Linked DNA regions of Homo sapiens: regions 2, 3 and 4 are each linked to region 1. The links are contacts of gene promoters, found by promoter capture Hi-C in human tissues and cell types (Jung and others, 2019). All regions are on one chromosome and are shown on one strand. The core of a region is centred on a gene start or on the middle of the fragment in contact, and the rest is flanking DNA. Distances in the headings are between cores, read along the strand shown. Region 1 holds the start of SNTG1 (syntrophin gamma 1). Region 2 overlaps SNTG1 (syntrophin gamma 1). Region 3 has its middle 270 kb from the start of SNTG1. Region 4 overlaps SNTG1 (syntrophin gamma 1).

The links. The method cuts DNA at HindIII sites, captures the fragments that hold promoters and counts their contacts. A contact is called where the count stands out against the background at its distance.
Region 2: a fragment that was not itself captured here is called in contact with the fragment with the promoter of SNTG1 in region 1 in 1 of the 25 tissues and cell types used here (mesendoderm cells).
Region 3: a fragment that was not itself captured here is called in contact with the fragment with the promoter of SNTG1 in region 1 in 1 of the 25 tissues and cell types used here (H1 embryonic stem cells).
Region 4: a fragment that was not itself captured here is called in contact with the fragment with the promoter of SNTG1 in region 1 in 2 of the 25 tissues and cell types used here (H1 embryonic stem cells and hippocampus).

What each region holds. Positions count from the first base shown.
Region 1 is chr8:49,910,100-49,914,662 of GRCh38, reverse strand. It overlaps SNTG1 (syntrophin gamma 1), which reads right to left and starts at 3,256. Exons shown (of 19, transcript NM_018967.5): 1 at 2,432-3,256. RefSeq lists an enhancer at 3,407-4,351. The HindIII fragment of the contact is 7,737 bases long and covers 1-4,563 here.
Region 2 is chr8:50,393,438-50,397,970 of GRCh38, reverse strand. It overlaps SNTG1 (syntrophin gamma 1), which reads right to left. Exons shown (of 19, transcript NM_018967.5): 3 at 3,706-3,759. The coding sequence starts at 3,732. Among named protein-coding and RNA genes, the nearest start is that of SNTG1, 480 kb to the right of the region's middle. The HindIII fragment of the contact is 5,713 bases long and covers 264-4,533 here.
Region 3 is chr8:49,642,440-49,646,953 of GRCh38, reverse strand. No RefSeq gene overlaps it. Among named protein-coding and RNA genes, the nearest start is that of SNTG1, 270 kb to the left of the region's middle. The HindIII fragment of the contact is 5,277 bases long and covers 1-4,514 here.
Region 4 is chr8:50,308,906-50,313,414 of GRCh38, reverse strand. All of the region lies in intron 2 of SNTG1 (syntrophin gamma 1), which reads right to left. Among named protein-coding and RNA genes, the nearest start is that of SNTG1, 400 kb to the right of the region's middle. The HindIII fragment of the contact is 3,258 bases long and covers 1,563-4,509 here.

The DNA of each region.
Region 1 (4,563 bases), core at 2,007-4,506:
CAAAGGCAAACTGTGAGCATTAAAATCCAATACGATTTCATGGTATGAATAATTACATTAGAATATACAAGTAATATTTATATAGTCTATGCAAAAATTAATCAAGAAGTGTTTTTATAACATTTTGGAAGAAGGCAATTGAATGGATTCCAGGGCTCATTTTAAATTATCCTCTGGTCCTATATATACTTTACATTTTCTAGATTATGTAATCCCATCTCACCTTTCTCTTTTGAGTCTCAAATGTAAGCAACAGCCAACAACACTTAGTCTTATCCAATAAAACTTTTTTTTTTTTTTTAATGGGGAAAAGATAGTGTGTTTGGTACTCCCAAGACCTCATGCATCCTTTTTCTTTAGCAAAACAAAATAACTATCAAAGCAAATAGATGCCCTTAGTGGGGTACAGATATCCCTTAATAAAATGTTGATTTTTCTTTAAAGACAAGTGATTCTGTGCAATAATGAAGATTGGTTTCCACTACCCCCTTTTTGTTTGTTTGTTTGACTATCTACTTTACAATTAGAGATTAGCATTGGTAGGCATTAAGTTGCTTTCCCAAACTCTATCTCAATGTAAGGACATTTCCCTACAGATAAGGATTGACAAGGGTTTCCATGCAGTTTCATGAGTTTGGGGTGAATTAGAGTTACATATTTCTGTGACTAAATCTCCTAAGGGATTAGGCAAAGGTAACTTTCACTTTGTGAGATTTCAGTTACACATAGAGAAAGCCTGCCCCCTCTGCCCCTGAGGAGGGAACTGCGGCCATATACACAGAGGAGTGCTTCTTGAAACACATTCTCTGCTTACATTTTATGCCCTACTGACTAGGGGAGTCCCTCTGTGTTAATTAATTGACAGCCAAAATAATTGTCTAAAGACATGCTGTAACTCTCTTAAAATATGATTAAGTCTTCCATGTGATAATTTCACTTCCATACCTCTCCCACTGAGGAAAAAAAGGATTGTGTTAAGAGCACATTGTAGGTTTTCTGGGAAGGAATCCAAATCAATAATACATGTTTCTCCTCCTCAGATAATCATTCTTGACCTATATAGGGCAACGGAGCCCCCAAGGAGCTCAGTGACATAGATGCCTCTGCTCCTTTTCTGCTAAGCAAGCAGGTTCATGGTAAGTGGTGACAGTTAAGAATGATTTTTCCTCAGAGTAATTGCTACACTCAGCCAACATAAAACAAGAGGACATCACCCCACCAATGAATGCCACTGTAACGGCCTCCAATGATTTTTGTGTTAAAATTGAGAAGGAAGGTACGTATAGATATGCATTAGAGCCATTTTACTATCGTTACACACAACCAGTGAAATTAAAAGTAAAACCTAAAGATCTCCTGTAATTTTTCAAAGGGGTAGACTCTTTTCACAGAGTTGATTATGAATATCTCATCACATGTATTTACATGACTGTAAAATTCCATCCTTGCAAGTCAAAACTCTTCACTGAACTGAATGTACTCATTGGAATTGATCGGATTCTTAGTGAAATGTCAGGCACGGGTTACAAATTTGTGTAACTGCTTTTGCCCAGTGAACCCTTTTTATTAAAGCAGAATGCTTATCAAGGTCACTGTGAAAGATTGTAATTTTAAAGCTCCAGGGGAAAACTAGAAATAAGAATCAACAGAAAACAGATTTAATTAGCATTTTAAAGTTTATGGTTTTTCGGGAACCTACTGGTCCCTATCACTTTCTGGATTTCACTGACAAATGTATTTTGCAGAACTAATAAGTTAGAATGATTTTGAAATCCAGCTCTCCTAAAGAGGCACACTAAAGCTTCTCATTTTCTGCTTTCTGGCAGATCAGGTTTGAGAAAGCAATCTTGAGCTTTCAAAGGCTGGAAAGAGGGTGCTAAGTAAAAATATGAGTGTCTCCTTACGTAAGATCCTACAGGTGTAGGTATACTTGGAGGTTGGCATGGAGTGAGAAATCTGGTGTATATGTATACATGTATTTGTTCCCATGCATAGTTTAGTATATTATAACAATATAAAATATGTTAGAGGGCATGGTTAAACCCTCTCTATTTTAACTTTTTTAGTCTTGCATACTATGTAACACAGACAGGATCACTTTTTATGGCATACATAAGACAACAAAATTATCTTGCCAAACGATTGCATTAGTTTTGGGAAAAAATAAACAAGATATGCCAGATCCAAAAAGATATTAGATAAGCAATAAGAAAAATGGCCAGCTAAAAGTTTACTGTAATTATGTAAGGCAACATGTATGTTATTTTGATTCTTCTTGTCACACAATGATCCAGAAACAATTATTTTAAAACAAAATTGCTTGTCTCCTCGTTAACCCCAGAAAAAATTACACTGCTTATGATCTTTCTGTTAAACCATAAGACAAGTCATTAGAATTTTAAAAAACAAAAATAATAGCGCTATCACTTACCTGCCGAGCAATGAAATTAGATGTCTTTTCAGTCTCTCTAACGTAGAATTTTGAGTAGCTCTCCACCCTCTTTTCACAAAGCTATTTCCAAAACAGTTGCAATCCACTCAAGACCATTCTGTTTATTTCAAGAAGTGTGGACCTTTGAGCATTTCAACCCCTACCGCACGGCCCATGATTTCTCAGAGCTTCTAAGAACTTCGACTTTACTCTCCTCCAGAATTCCTCCCAGACCCCTATAGAAAAATGATTCTTGAAGTTGCTGCTGAGAGTTTAATCTGTGGAGCAAGAGTACTCCTCAGAGTCCTGTCCTTAGGTACAGCAGGTGTAGAGGGAGGGGTACTTTTCATCCATTAAGGAAGGGGGCCGGGAGGCGAGGGGGTAATAGGAGGCACCGCCTTTTAGCTGCGAGGAGCAAGTAGCCCAGCTGCCCGTGGCGACGACAGTGGCGGCAAGGACAGCGGCGGCGGCAGCGTAGTTCCGTCCCTGTGGCTGCAGCTCAGTCCGGAGACGCTGTCCATCCCCTCTGGTGCTGAAGTAAGGGGACGGGAGCCCCTAAGCGCAGGTCCAGGTCGCACTTTCCTCCACCAGCGAATCCAAGCAGCAGCTTCCTTGTCTTCCGCCCTAGCCTTCTCCCCTCCGGTTCTTTTTTTTTTCTTTTTTCTTTCTTTTTTTTTTTTGTAGGGGCTAATTGTTTCTCCAAATTAACAGTCTCATACTTATTTGGTGACAACGTTTCTGGAAAAACAGGAATCCCTGGGAAATAACATCTGAGCCTCCCCTGACTTTTCAGTGGCCCTGCACGAGTTTCCTAATGCCAGAAATGAAAGAAAACGCACGCACAGGGGCGCGCACATACACGCACGAGAGAGGCAGAGAGAGAGAGAGAGGAAGAGAGAGAAAAAATATATAGATTTGTACCGTGGAAAATCCAGAGCTTCTTTGGAAAGCTCGTGGATCTTTAATTACATAAGATGAAAAGGAATATTTTGGAAAACTCCGCAATCTTGATTACCAATTAAGGGGACCACATTCAAATTTTGAGAAACCCAATTTGAAATTCCTAAATTAAACCCAGTGAAGATTCTTAGACCCTCCACGCGGAAACGATAGGTTATTGTTAAAATTTTAAAAGACAGAGAATGAAAGAATGAAAAAGACAGGAAAAAGCATCTGCACTCGGCTACCTTTTAAAACGCTGCTGAATTGGATCGGGATCGTTGCAGAGCCTCTCAGAGGATCCGGCGAACGCAGCTCCTGTGAGTGTCAGCGCTGAGCTCAGCGAGCAGGCAGCTTGGAGGCCCAGGGCAGTGCTAGCGAGTCGCCCACAGCCTAGGCTCCTGCAGTGGGGGCAGAAAACGGCTTATTTCACAAAGGACGGGATAAAGAAGGCACAAAGACAGTCAGAGGGCTCGACAATCTCTGCCTTTGTAAAGCCAGAGCAAAGCCCAATTTACGTTGTTTTTTTTGTTGGCTTTTCAGCCCATTTTCCCTCTGGTCTCCCACGCTGCCCCCTCGCCTCCCTACTCCGGAATCCGCGCTCTCCCGGGCCTTGCAGGCTCTTCACTCCCGCTCTTGGCAACTGGCTGACAACGAGCATAAAGAAGGGTATGGGTGCGTGGTCCCGAGTGCTGTCACCCAGGGCTCAGCCACCCACACTCGGCAACGGGTGCAGACGCCAGTGAACTGAGACGGGAAGTTGAAATACATAACGTTGAAACTGTTGGAAAACTGGTCAAAACCAGGGCCATGTGGACCTTTGAAACTATGTGGAGTAAAAGGGGAAAATGGAAAGAGCGAGACTGTAACACCGCCCGCCCTTGCAGACTCCTAACTTGTGCAGTGTAGATTTCTGCACAAGGAGGTTATTGATAGACATGAGAGGAAATTCGAGAAAGACTGGTGAGGGGCGCTGGTGTGTGTGGTGGGGACGGGGGTCCGGGAGGGGCGGGGCGCAACACTAATTTCTCCCGGGCTGTGGGAAGGGGCCGGACGCCTGCTCCTGGCCTCCCTTCCCCGGCGACTTCTCAGGTTCTTCTTCCTGTTCTGACACTACAGGGAAGTCCTAGACGTTGTGCTTTCCTCCCACGCTTGCTTCCATCAAGGATTAGAGCGCGTTCCCGCTGGTCTGG
Region 2 (4,533 bases), core at 1,871-4,370, 480 kb before region 1:
TTTGTTGTTTAATAATAATTATTTATATAGTGCTCACTGTGTGACAAGAAGTATTAATTTATTTTTCTCCCTTAACAAAAATTAACGCAACCATCTGCCTTTACAGATTAGACAAGTGCAGAGGGACCTAGAGGAAGAAAAGGCTAGAATTCAACACAGGCAGCTAGGCTCTTCACCACACACTCTGCTATCCCGCATACACAGATTATTTAAGAATGCCACCCCCAGTTGTCCTGTATACAATGACATGGCTATTGGCATCTTTCACTGGAGAGCATTATGGTTATCAATAATCTCCTAATGGGGTGTGGATAATTTTGAAAAGAACAACATAATCTTGAAGCAGCTATTCTTCTTGTATTGAAGCAATGACCACTAGAGAGAAAAAACGAGTAAGAGACTACTCTGGAACTTACAGGATGATCTTCCCCAAAGCCACGCTACTAGGAGACTGTCTGATAGAGGAAGAAGTTTGATCTCCACTCCTTCCTGAAGTGCTTTAAGAGCTAAAAATGAGAGACCGAATCATGGGAGCAGCTGCAGGTTGGTGCTGCAAACCTAAAACAGCCCCACCTGCAAAGTCTTTACAGATCTGTGGACCCAAATTGTTTAGATATCGAAAATCACCTACATAATTATTGGTCTCAAATTTTAATATAAACTAAAGACATGAATCTTCTTCTTTCTTTTTATTAATGTAACATCATTTGTCTCCAAACTTCGTTGACTTTGCATACCATTGCACATAAATAAAGGAATGCATGTGATATAGATACTGTATGAATGTATTTTGTACTTTATAAAATATACACCAAACATAATTTTAAAGGGATGATTCATTTAAAAATGATATAAGTAAAATATTCTTCTTCTCTGACTGATGGACGATTCTAGATGGAACTTTTTACAAAATCCACATTGGAGACTATTTGCTTAAAGGAATTATTGAAAAGCAATACTTCCTAATTGCCTAAAAGGCAACATATTTAAATTATTAATTAGCTATGCTTTCTGCAAATCAAGAAAATGTTTATGAATTTGCATGGGTTTACTCTTTAAACAAATCTCACATTTAACTTCTCTCACATTTAAACTTATTAAGAATTTGTAGTTTCTTAAACATAGGACCTAGGTTGGATCTTTATAAAAGTAGAATATCATCCATTTTCTACTTAAAAGTTAAGGCCTTTTTAATTTATATTCTAGTCTTTCAAAATGTACAAAATGTATTTTCATGAAACTTTAAAATTTAAGGTCTATTAATTTTGAAATATACTCACAATATCAGATATAAGAAATGACAAACTACAAAAAGTAGGCAGAGATAATAAAATGGACTGCAAATTTTCTTGCAAGTATCCACAGTATTTCCATGTTTCAAGTGCCAAATACGATTTAATTTGTTTTGTCTTATACTGTACTGCATTGTAGCAGTAGTGTACTAAATGTTCTTTTATGCAAAGTGCTTCAAACTGCATCTTATCATTTACGTTCCCATTCCTGGATTACTTTTGATCATGGCCTTTTCCTTAACTAAATTCTAGCCATTATTCGAGTCCTGGCACCAGACTCCCTTCTCTTTGAAGCCTTCTGAAATCATTCTATTCAAAGATGAGTCCTCACTTTCCTGAACACTTGGATTCCATTAAGTAAATATTTACCCCAAAATTGATCACTATTGTCTTTTGGCATCACATATAGTGACTTCAGCAATATTTAGCTATATCTCACATGAGTGATTTAATTTCCTCTTCTATATTGTTATCTCAGTAACAGGTTGTCACTCTTTTCAGTACTAAGGATTACTAATTTACAAGAGCTAGTATGGTAATAACAGTATTACCAATTAAATAAATCTTCTGTATCTTAATAGAATTTGAGAAATATCCCAAATTAGTACATCAAAACAATTTTGTTTACAAAAAGCTCTTGTAAATCTTTCCAGCCTCTGAAATCCAAAATAAACCATTTGTTAAATAGTATTTGACCACTGTCCAATCTGTACCATATGAATGTCATGTGTCCCATAAGTATCTCATTCACACAAATATCCACTGGGTTTCAATGAATGCCTTACTACTCAAGACATAAGGTTGCACATTAATGGAAATAGAAGACTTGCTACTTTTAAAATTAAGTATGCAATTAAAACCAGAAATGGGCCGGGCACAGTGGCTCACGCCTGTAATCCCAGCACTTTGGGAGGCCGAGTCGGGTGGATCACGAGGTCAGGAGATCGAGATCTTCCTGGCTAACACGGTGAAACCTCGTCTCTAATACAAAAATACAAAATAAAAAAATTAGCCTGGCGTGGTGGCAGGCACCTGTAGTCCCAGCTACTTCGGAGGCTGAGGCTGGAGAATGGCATGAACCCAGGAGGCAGAGCTTGCAGTGAGCCGAGATCGCGCCACTGCACTCCAGCCTGGGCGACAGAGTGAGACTCCATTAAAAAAAAAAAAAAAAACAGAAATTAGACAATTAAAATTTAAAATACAAAGCTTCTAGAACATTAATTCAGTTTTTAAAAATATATGAACCAATAAGTGCTAAGTTAAAAAGATGAATAATGTACACACTCTGACCTTATAGTATTCAGTGTAGCACATGAGAAAGGTTTGTAAACAAAAAAACTGCCTTGTAATTTGATGAGTATTAGCATAGAGATATGTTTAAAATGTTATGCTTAAAGCATTAAAAGTAGAAACATAAGAATAGAAATATAAAAGCAATTTATTAGTTTTCTGAAAAACCTTATATTTATATTCTGAACTTCTTACCAACAGTGACAAGTATTTTTAAATATATATTTTTTCAATTGCTTTAGAAGAAAATAAGGAGTTACTTTCCACAAATTCATGCAAGAACTGTAAACACATGACATTTCACTAAAGTAACAGTCTTCACAAGGTTAAGAACTGAAGTCTTTCCCTAGTTTGATTTTAACACTACCAGAGGTAAGCAGTTATGGTTGGTTTTTGTTGAGTTGTTTATATACAATAAAAAAATGCTTTAAACCTTTTAAACAAATATAAAACATTTTTAAGCTGCAAGTATTTGTATTTTGCCTGAAGAATGAAAACACAATACTTTGAATGTTACATATTTAGTAAAAAAAAAAAAAAAAGTTAGTTTTTCTTCCTAAGATGGAATGGTTGTATTCCCTGGGGGCCCACATCCATGCACTATTGAACTGTAAACTTGAACACTGTTTATCATCCTTGAAATACTAATGTGCCACTTTAACTCGTGCTGAAATGTGATGACAGCTCTACAGAGAATCTAAATTCTTGTGTATTAATACTTAAATAATATTGAATTACTTAAATACTATCAGAATCATAAAATCATAGAATTTTAGGGCTGAAAGGAACCTTAGATGTCTTCTAATTTATTACCATTTATGTGAAAAGAATTCTTTCCAACACTTCCACTACCTGAAATGTGCAGAGTTGGTGAAGAGGAGCAACTCAATTATATTCAATATGCTCCAGTCTTCCTAAAGAAAGAGTTAAAGTCCAAGGCTTTCCATGCACAGTTAGGTTTTCTATCTTTGCAGAAGGAGAACGTAATCTGGAAGGAAAAAGAGCCCATCCTCCTCTCTCCATTTTCTGCCAAAAGCAGAATTTCCCTATATAAATTGGAGCCAAGTGTTTCCCGCTTATATTCTGTTTTCCCTGTTTGAAAAGCAGAAAGCTCTGTACTCACCTCCTCACAGGCGGTTCTGAAATCCATGTGCTGTGGCACCACAAAGGATGTCGTCTGAAAAGACACAGAAATGGTAAGCCATTAGGCACAGCATGGCATGTAAGAGAGAACACTAATATAGTGGAGGAAATCGTGAAGCAGAACTTGTGGGAAAACTGTGTTTACAACCACTTGTAAGGAACAAGAGCTCCAGGGTATACTGAAGAGAGGAAAATGAACAGATGAAAAAAGTCTTAATCCCCAGCTTTTAGGAAGTATAAATATCCTGCCATCATTCAGTGTGATTGAGTGTGCATTTCCAGGCACCTTTCCACCCCGCCAGCAGGCATTCAGACTCCATGTATCATCAGATCAACCTCTTCTCGCTCATTCCCAACATGCATTGTGAAACCTGAGTTTGCAATTGAGAAAGAAACTTCAAAAAGAGCAATTAAAAGTTGCCTTTCATATGGTTACCTCATGAAAAAAGATTGACTAATCTCTCTCTTTTTAATTAAAAAGCTACATGCATGAATAATTCTCTCTGGAACTTAAAATTTTATTCACAATATGATGTAAGGAAGCAAGCTATTTGTCAGAGTGAATAATATTAAGAAAAATCAATGTATAAAATATCTAAAATAGATTCATCTATGGTCACTATAATACCTAAATGATGAATGTAGATTTAAATACATATAGATGTTTTTGTAAAATTATTCTGGAGTGTTTTGTTTTCATTACGTGATACACCTAACCAAACTAAGATATGTCACGGAAAGTTGACACCCAGACACTATAAAACAAAGCAATGCAGAGCCAAAATATAATGGATAAGTAAATGAGACG
Region 3 (4,514 bases), core at 769-3,268, 270 kb after region 1:
TCTAAACTATTAGGGAATCTGATATAAAGAAGGATATCTCTAAACTATTAAGGAATCTGATATACAAAAGGATATCTCTAAACTAGCAATCTGAGGGTATTGCATGTGAATGTTTTCTTTCCTGAACTGTGAAGTAAAATACAAGTGGGAAAGAATTGATGAATATGTAAACTGACAGAGTGGAACGTATTAATCAATGGTGCTGTGAATCTAGGTTCCTGCTTCTATAATGGCCACTGATTCGAAAGAAGTAAAAGAAAAGAAAGAAACCAGATAGGCTGCCAGATGTGAAAATAGTGGCTTATAGTATATGGTAAATATTGTCTTAAAGTTTTGACAATTTTCAAGATATGAAGGTTTTTAGTCGCATTTAAATTGCAGTAATATTTTCGTGGGAAAATTATCTCTTTTGTTATTTAACACAAACTTTCTAATGGCCTTGTCCTATATTATGGTATAAATATTACATAATAAAATAGGAACAGATTTTTATTATATAAAGTTTTCTCATGCGTAAATGGTAAAGAGGTAATTATGGTGATTTCAGGAAAAAACAAGGCTTACTGCTTGAATAAACACTGGGCTTTATTGGAAAAAAGTATTCACAGCCTGACCACCTTCCTCTTTTGCTGATGGCAGGGTGGACAAGTCTGTGTTCATAGGATGGAAACACGGTGTGAGTACCAGGTACTTCAACATGGCACAGCATCCTATTTGTGGCAGCCGAGTTCCCTTGGAAAGTGTACGAGCACAGTTGGAGCCAAGGTTTTCAGAGAGAGGGTGGAAAAATAAAGTTTAGCAGCTAATCCAAAGACAGAAGCAAGACTGGAAGAAGAGATAATACCCCAAAGGACTCCAGTGGAACACGAACAAAAAAAGGAGGTTGTTAGAAGCAACTATTGCAGCAGGTGCAGGATGTCCACAGTATGCCTGCTTGGACAGAATGGACTGATTGGTGATATTTTCTGAGTCAACCTGGGAAATTCTTCTGATTAATTCATTGATTCTAAAGTTTTTTAGTTTTCTGTGGTGTTTTGCTCTAGGAGTGGGCTATGTCTGTGCTGATATATCAAGTACAATTGTTCAATTTACTCATGCAAGAGACTAACAGAGAACTGAAAAAGCCAATTACCAAATGGGATTCTCTAGCATCTATTATATAATGATGACCATATTTTTATTATAATAATAAAACTAGACATAATAATACCAGCTAACATTTATGGGATGCTTAATTCTAGGCATTATGCTGAGAATATCTTATGCATTATTTTCTTTAGTTTTCTTAACACACTTAATAGGTTATTATTACTGTTATTATTATTCCTACACTAATAGGGAAGATATTATTAAAGTTTATGAAATGCTCATTACCAACTAAAGGTCACACATATTACAAGTGAGGAGCCCAGCTCTTGACCTAAGTCTTGTGACTCAAACACTACAATTGTTATATGATAATTTCCTCTTCATGGATGCTGATAGAATGTTACCAGAATGCTCTCCCATAGTAGGCACTCAATAAATGACTAACGGAAGAAAGGAAGGAAGGAAGGAAGGAAGGAAGGAAGGAAGGAAGGAAGGAAGGAAGGAAGGAACCATTACACATTTTTCATGTAAGAATTTTTATATGTGTCCCTTCACCACACCAATACTTTAACAAAGCTTTTTAAAACAGTTATCCATTGCCAAATATGCATGTAGTTGTGAAATAAAGGGTGAGTGCATGGGCATTTAGGGGCTAAGGATAAGGTATCATCAGCATAGAGAGGTAGCAGGCAGAGATAGAGCTGATGAAAGGGAAATCCAGACAAAGAGCCCCAGTAAGAGCTGGCAGACTGTGACTGTGACACAGGCATATGCCCTTCCCTGGTTCTCTCTATAGGAAAACAAAATTATTTCAGAGAAAGCTGAACTTGAGTTTCCTGCTGTTGAATGTGAATAAAGAACTTAGTCATTGCATTAATAATAAAGGAAAAGTAATTATCAATGATACAAAGATATGAAACAAGTATGTTACAAAAGCTTTTATATTTAACTCAGTTTCTTCCTTGGAGATGCAATGTCAACATTTTCCTAGGCTAAAAATAGGTAATCAAATCCTTGTTTGTTGCTTAAGAAATATTTTTAATATGTGTGCATATATTAAACCTCAGAGAATTACATTGATGAGATAATGCTTGAATTTCCATTTATCATTTAAAGCCAATGACTTAATTAAGCTTTGATAAATTTTCATTAATTATTTAACCTCAAAGAAAGCTTATAAGACACCCCAGAGTGCTTATTTCTAACTAATAGGCAGTGCAGGAAATAAATTTTTATACAAACATTCATATAGTTTATTAATATTTAAGACTACACTTCTTGTTGCCAACTATTTTTAATAAAATGTATTATTTCAAATATATCAAAGAAAATTAGAACTTTGTTAAATGTTACTAACATCTGAGTCAACTACAAAACTATCACACTAAAATATAAGCAGTTTATTTTCAGTATCTTAAAACTGAGGAAAAAAATATTTCATGTCTTAGAATATCCTAGTTAAACTACATTTCACCAACAGGAATCCATTGTAGTGTTTTCATTTCAGTCTAGTCTAATCTTATTTTTTATTATATCATTTTTAATGTATAATTCTAGTCTTAATTGTTGTTTCTCTATCATTCTCCCAGGGTCCCTTTATGTCACTCATAATATTGCAGACATGGGAGGTGCTCCATCAAACCCAGAATGAAAGAATTTAATAATTGCATGAGATGTTAAACATTCCCTAGTTCATTCACCCACCCACACAATGATCGAAGCTCAATTAAGTAAATATGACCAAATTGAACACTAAAAATGTACCTCCCTTCCAATAAAAGAACATCTCAACCAATAGTTGCATTAGGTGTTAAATATCACCTATTTCATTCACCCATGCAATGATTGATGCTCAATTAAATAAATATGACAAAATTGAACATTAAAAAAGTATTCCCCCCATAAAGGAACGTCTCAGCCACTCTATCTAATGCACCCACTTTACCAGGCACATTAACCTGACCAAACTAACTTGATTAGTCTCTTTCTAGTTGCCAAAGCCTAGAAAGATTTCAGTTGTAGTCTATTATTGATGACTGAAACAATAACAGTTTGAGTTATTTAAAATACAGAAAATTGAGAGGATAAGAAAAATTCCCAAAAGAGTATGTTATGGGCCAATCACGGTGACTCATGCTGCAATCGCAGTGCTTTGGATGACTGAGGCAGGAAGGTTGATTGAGGCCAGGAGTTTAAGATCAGCCTCAAAACAGCAAGACCACGTCTCTACCAAAAAAAATAAATTAAATTAAATTAAAATTATCTAGGCATTGTGGTTGTGCATGTGCATGCCTGTAGTCCTAGCTACTCAGGGGACTAAAGTGGGAGGATTGCCTGAGCCCAAGATGTCAAAGGTTGCAATGAGCCCTGATCCTGCCACTGCTCCTCAGCCTGGGTGACAGAGACCCTATCTCTTTTAAAAAATGTGTGTTACAAACCAAATATTTGTGTCTATTTGTGTCCTCCCTCAATTCATATGTTGAAATTCACACTGCCAATGAGATGGTATTTGGAGTTAGGCCTTTGGGAGATGATTAGGTTTAGATGAGGTCATGAGGAAGGGGCGCCATAATGGGATCAGTGTCCTCATAATAAAAGAAAAGCCTGGAGCTTGCTCTCTCTCTTTCTTTCTTTCTTTTCTTTTTTTTTTTTTTTTTTTTTTTTTGAGACAGAGTCTCGCTCTGTCGCCCAGGCTGGAGTGCAGTGGCGCGATCTCAGCTCACTGCAAGCTCCACCTCCCGGGTTCAGGCCATTCTCCTGCCTCAGCCTCCTGAGTAGCTGGGACCACAGGCGCCCGCCACCACGCCTGGCTAATTTTTTTGTATTTTTATTAGAGACGGGGTTTCACCATGTTAGCCAGGATGTTCTCCATCTCCTGACCTCTTGATCCACCCGCCTCGGCCTCCCAAAGTGCTGGGATTACAGGTGCTCTCTTTCTTAGTGGGGCAAAGAGGAGGTTATGTGAGTGCATATTGAGAAGGCACCACCCAGGAGCCAAAAGAAAGGGCTCAGAATGAAACCTACGATGTTAGCAGCTTCATCTTGGCCTTCCCAGTTTCCAGAATTGTGAGAGATACATTTCTATTGTGTAATCTATTCAGCCTATGGTATTTTGTTAGGCAGCCAAGCTAAGAGTAAAAACTTAGGGAGGAGAAATTGACTAAAAAAAAGGAGGCAAAGATCTAAGTTGTAAGTTGAACATAAAATAAAAGTAATGGAAATAGACTACAAAGAGAACAAGGAGGATTCTGGGGAAAAAAAATGAAGCAAGACATTCAAATAAACCCTGATGTGTCTGAGTAGACTTGAATGGAGATAAAGGTAAATGATTAGACTGAACAATTCAAAGATGTCTCCAAAAAAAAAAAACAGAGAACATTAATCATTAAATGAAATGGTCTAGTGAAATATCATTTGACCCTCGA
Region 4 (4,509 bases), core at 1,942-4,441, 400 kb before region 1:
CATACAATTTGCAAATATTTTTCTCTATCTATGGTTGTCTTTCTGCCCTGTTAAATTGTTTCCTTTGCAGTGCGGAAGCTTTCTAGTTTGATGAAACCCCATTTGTGTATTTTTGCTTTGGTTTCCTGTGCTTTTTGGTGTCATATTCAAAAAAATCATTGTTCAGCCAATATCATGCAGCTTTTCCTCTAAGTTTTTCTTTGAATTATTTTATAGTTTCAGATCTTACATTTCAGACTATACTCCATTTTTAGTCGATTCTTGTATATGGGGTGAGATAAGGGTCCAGTGCCATTCTTTTGCAGTGAATAGCTGGTTTTCCTAACAGCATCTATTGCAGAGACTGTCCTTTCCCCATGTGTGCTCTATTTTTGTGAAAGATTACCATGGAATTTTGATGGGGATTGTATTGAATCTGTAGATTGCTTTGGGTAGTATGGACATTTTAACAATATTAATTCTCCCAATCCACAAACATAGGGCATCTGACTGCACATGATTGTTAAACTTTAAATTCCTCAAATCTGAAACCTAACTGGATGTTAGTAATTTTGGGTAAGATAGTTATATTTTATTATATTTATGTTTTAAAGCCCTCATAGTTAACATACGCCCAGTGAAGAACCTTATAGTTGAAATTGTATTGTTCCCTGGTTTTTGTTTCACAATAATCCTGGAAGGCATGTTAGGAATTGAGAAAACGTAGAGATGAACATATTTTGCCATGTGGAAGTTTAGTAATGGGTATGAGGTGGCCTATTATGCTATTTTCATTGTTTTTGTATAGGCTTGAAATTTTTCATAATCGTAGAACTTTTTAACCCAAACCCTTGGCTACTGAGTGAAAGACTGACTTTTTCCACAATCTCTTTCCTCCTTGAGGCAGCTGAAGTGCCAGCTTACAGCTACTGCTTGGATTTTCAATTTTACTCTGTTACTCACCTTACATATTTCTGAATTCATTATGCATAAAAATATTATGTTTTATCTAGAATTTTAAAAAATTATACCAAAATTTCATATCAAGATTATTGGAGAAATAAGCTATCTTTCGTTGGGGCCATCTATCTGTGTTATTTTGAGACAATCACTAAGCATCCCTCTCCTTGGAAATAAGACTAGCGGGGAATTGACCAGAAAAGATAGATGGGGGGAACTAAAAGCATTTGTTGGTTTAATATTTTACAATATCACTGAAATCCCAGATAATATTCACTCTAATAGCTTTGGATTTACTATTAAATTTTTATATTTTCAAAATAGGAACACTGAACCCACAGTGAAACCCAGAGCAGACTATGTAACTTGTCCATTGTCATACAGCTGGATTTTTTTCTATTTTAAAAACATACAAAAACATATTCTTCACAAAATACATTCCAAAATCATATGCATACTACCTTTCTTTACTGTTATTAAGGAGAATCTATTCTTCCAGTCCTCTCCATTAATGGGGATAATTAAGAGTCTGCAGTGATCCCAGGAGAACAGACAATGCACAAATATCAAATAACTGAACTAGAGAAATTAAATGCAAAGACTAGTACTTGGTTACCCTGGCAACTTAATTGAATATTTCACATTACTCTTGGGTCAGTCAAAAACTATACAAAGTGTATTTCCATGTATTTTCTACAGAATATTTTTGAGAATAATCTCAAGATATAGAGTTTTCCAACGCTTACCTACATTCTTAAGTGTTTTCTTTGTTGAGTTCATAAGAAATATACATATAAAGAGAATTGAACAAGTTGTAGTGGATAACAATTTAAGATTTTGAAATATATTTTCAGAATTTCAAGGTACATAGGCCCAAAGCATTTATATTTTCAGTCACATTATGCATATCAAAAATACATATTTTAAGAATAAGACGTTTGTATGTAAAAGATGATTCGTAACCCTAGGCACACAACCTACTCAATGTATCCACTCAAGGGATCCTGTTAAGAAAAGGCTTTCTGTCAAAAGCCATACATAAACACACACCTCATCAAAACATGATTATAAAAGCACTTAGGCTCTGCATTTAAAATGTGAAGTTGGTGGTTGATCAGCACACATATTGCTGTCTACAACGGAACATAACCTTTCCTAAAGTGGCACACTGTGTGGGTTCTGCAGGCCCTGATAATGAATGCTGACAGAGGTATCCAATTATTCAGGCTTGGCTGCAGCCACAGTCCCTTAACTATGTGAGATGAATGGGATGATGGAGAACACACAGAGGGAACACAAACCTTAGATAGCCAAGTATAAAATGAAAGAAATACATTTTCAAAAACAGAACTTAAAAACAGTAATTTTAAGTTGATAGGAAGGCTCATAATATTTTTAGAAAGAATCATGCCTCAGTGAAATAAGCAATGAATCAGAAGTCAGGACCTAATTTTGGCTCAGGCCTTAAGTAGCTGTGTGATCTTGAAATAAAATTTTCTGGACTTTTGTCCTCATTTGTCTAAAGGCAGGAGGTGGCAATTGAACGCTGAAATAGATTAACTGTAAGACCCCATTTAGCTATGACATTTCATGATTCAATTATACACATACATTCTTTATATATGGGAAATGTGTATTTTATACTGGTATGTATATCTTATCTCACAATACTAATTGTTTAACCAATATATCAAATCTTATGTAAAAACACTTTAATAGCTTCACAGACTCACTTTCAAAGGATACTTACATTTATTTATTTATTTATTTGTTTACTTACTCATTTTGGGATGGAGTTTCACTCTTGTTGTCCAGGTTGGAGTGCAATGGCATGGTCTCGGCTCATTGCAACCTCTGCCTCCCAGGTTCAAGCGATTCTCCTGCCTCAGCCTCCCGAGTGGCTGGGATTACAGGCATGCGCCACCACACCTGGCTAATTTTGTATTTTTAGTAGAGACAGGGTTTCTCCATGTTGGTCAGACTGGTCTTGAACTTCTGACCTCAGGTGACCCATCCACCTTGACCTCCCAAAGTGCTGGGATTACATGCGTGAGCCACCAAGCCCAGCCAGGATACTTATATTAAATAAAATTGCGACTGTTTAAGCTTCTTGAAATTCTACTCTTAGAACTGCATTCAGGATGCATTTCTGCAATTTTTGTTAGCAATTAAAATCTTTATTCTTTGAAATTGAAATTTTATAACACTCCAAGGAATCAATAATTATTTTATTTAATAAAACTAGAGAATAATCCAGGTAACAAGTTTGAGATAAAACAAAGCAGATATTTCAAACAATGCCACATGGTTCGAGTAGGTAAACTCCTTCCCCAGGCGACCAACTTGAAGGACAATGGTCATTTTAAACTGTAAGCTTAGATGTACGAGGATCTTCTAGATAGATGCATATGCAAGTGGATGTGCTCAAACACAGATTGAGTTTCAATTAATATTGATTAAATAAAATGGGCTGTTTGACTATTTTTACGCACATAGACACTGAATTTTTTTACTTTTGATATTAATACCACAGAAGTTAAAACACAATGTTTTCCAGTTAATTGTCTCAGTCCAATATTTTTTGGACACTGACCAATGGAGTTTGCGGACAGCGAATTAATTTGTTGTTGCAATAAAAAGGTTTTTTTTGATACTAAGTATTAAAATTCTTAGCTTCTAAGGTCTTAAAAACTTTTGGAAGATAACTGGTTAAAGCTAAATTAGATACACATTTTCCTTTAATCTCCACTTCGTCTCTCAGAAGCCAATGTCACTCTTCTTTAAAATAGCTGCATACCTAAACCGCTACTAAGATATGGTATATTTGTTCCAGCCCTCAATGTTACCTGCCTCTTCTGTAGCTTTTTGAAGTTTTATTACCAAGAAAGATACAATCAATTTGCCCTAAATTAATGAATGCAGCTTGCATGTCAAAATCCCCCACTCATCTCGTTGAAGTATGAGCACAGTAAAATAACATCTGATACGAAATTCATTTGTTTTCCCAGCATTAGCTTTGCATTTAACTATGTGGGCCGAAGGAATCAAAACCATCTGACTTTCTCTTCTTGAAATAATCAGTACATTTTTACAGAACAGTGATTTTTTTTTTTTTGTCTTAAAAAAGAAAGAGGCAAAGTCTATTTAATATTTAGGAACTCAAAAACCTGAGAGAAAAGAGTAAATACGCGGCTTCCCTCTTATCATGAAATCCTGTCATTTTTGCTTTAGAAAATGATACACAGATTTCGAAAGAAACTTAAACCTAGGTGCCCTTTCAAATATATAACAATAACCAAAAGCTTGTGGCTTTCTTCATCTTCTGAACTTTAAGCTTGATTAAATTCAGTAAAGGGCTATGAATGTTGTAAAATAGCTTTAGAAAATTTTTTTTTTATTTCTTCTAAGTATTAGCTCTTTCCAGATGACTATAAATGCCTAGAATTTGGGAAGACACATTTGTGTTCTATCAGGAAAGCCTTTCAAAGTCATCTTTGATGTGTAGATCAAAACTATTGCTTCCTAGTTATAACACACAAAAATCTAGTTTATGAATAGAAACATTTAAAA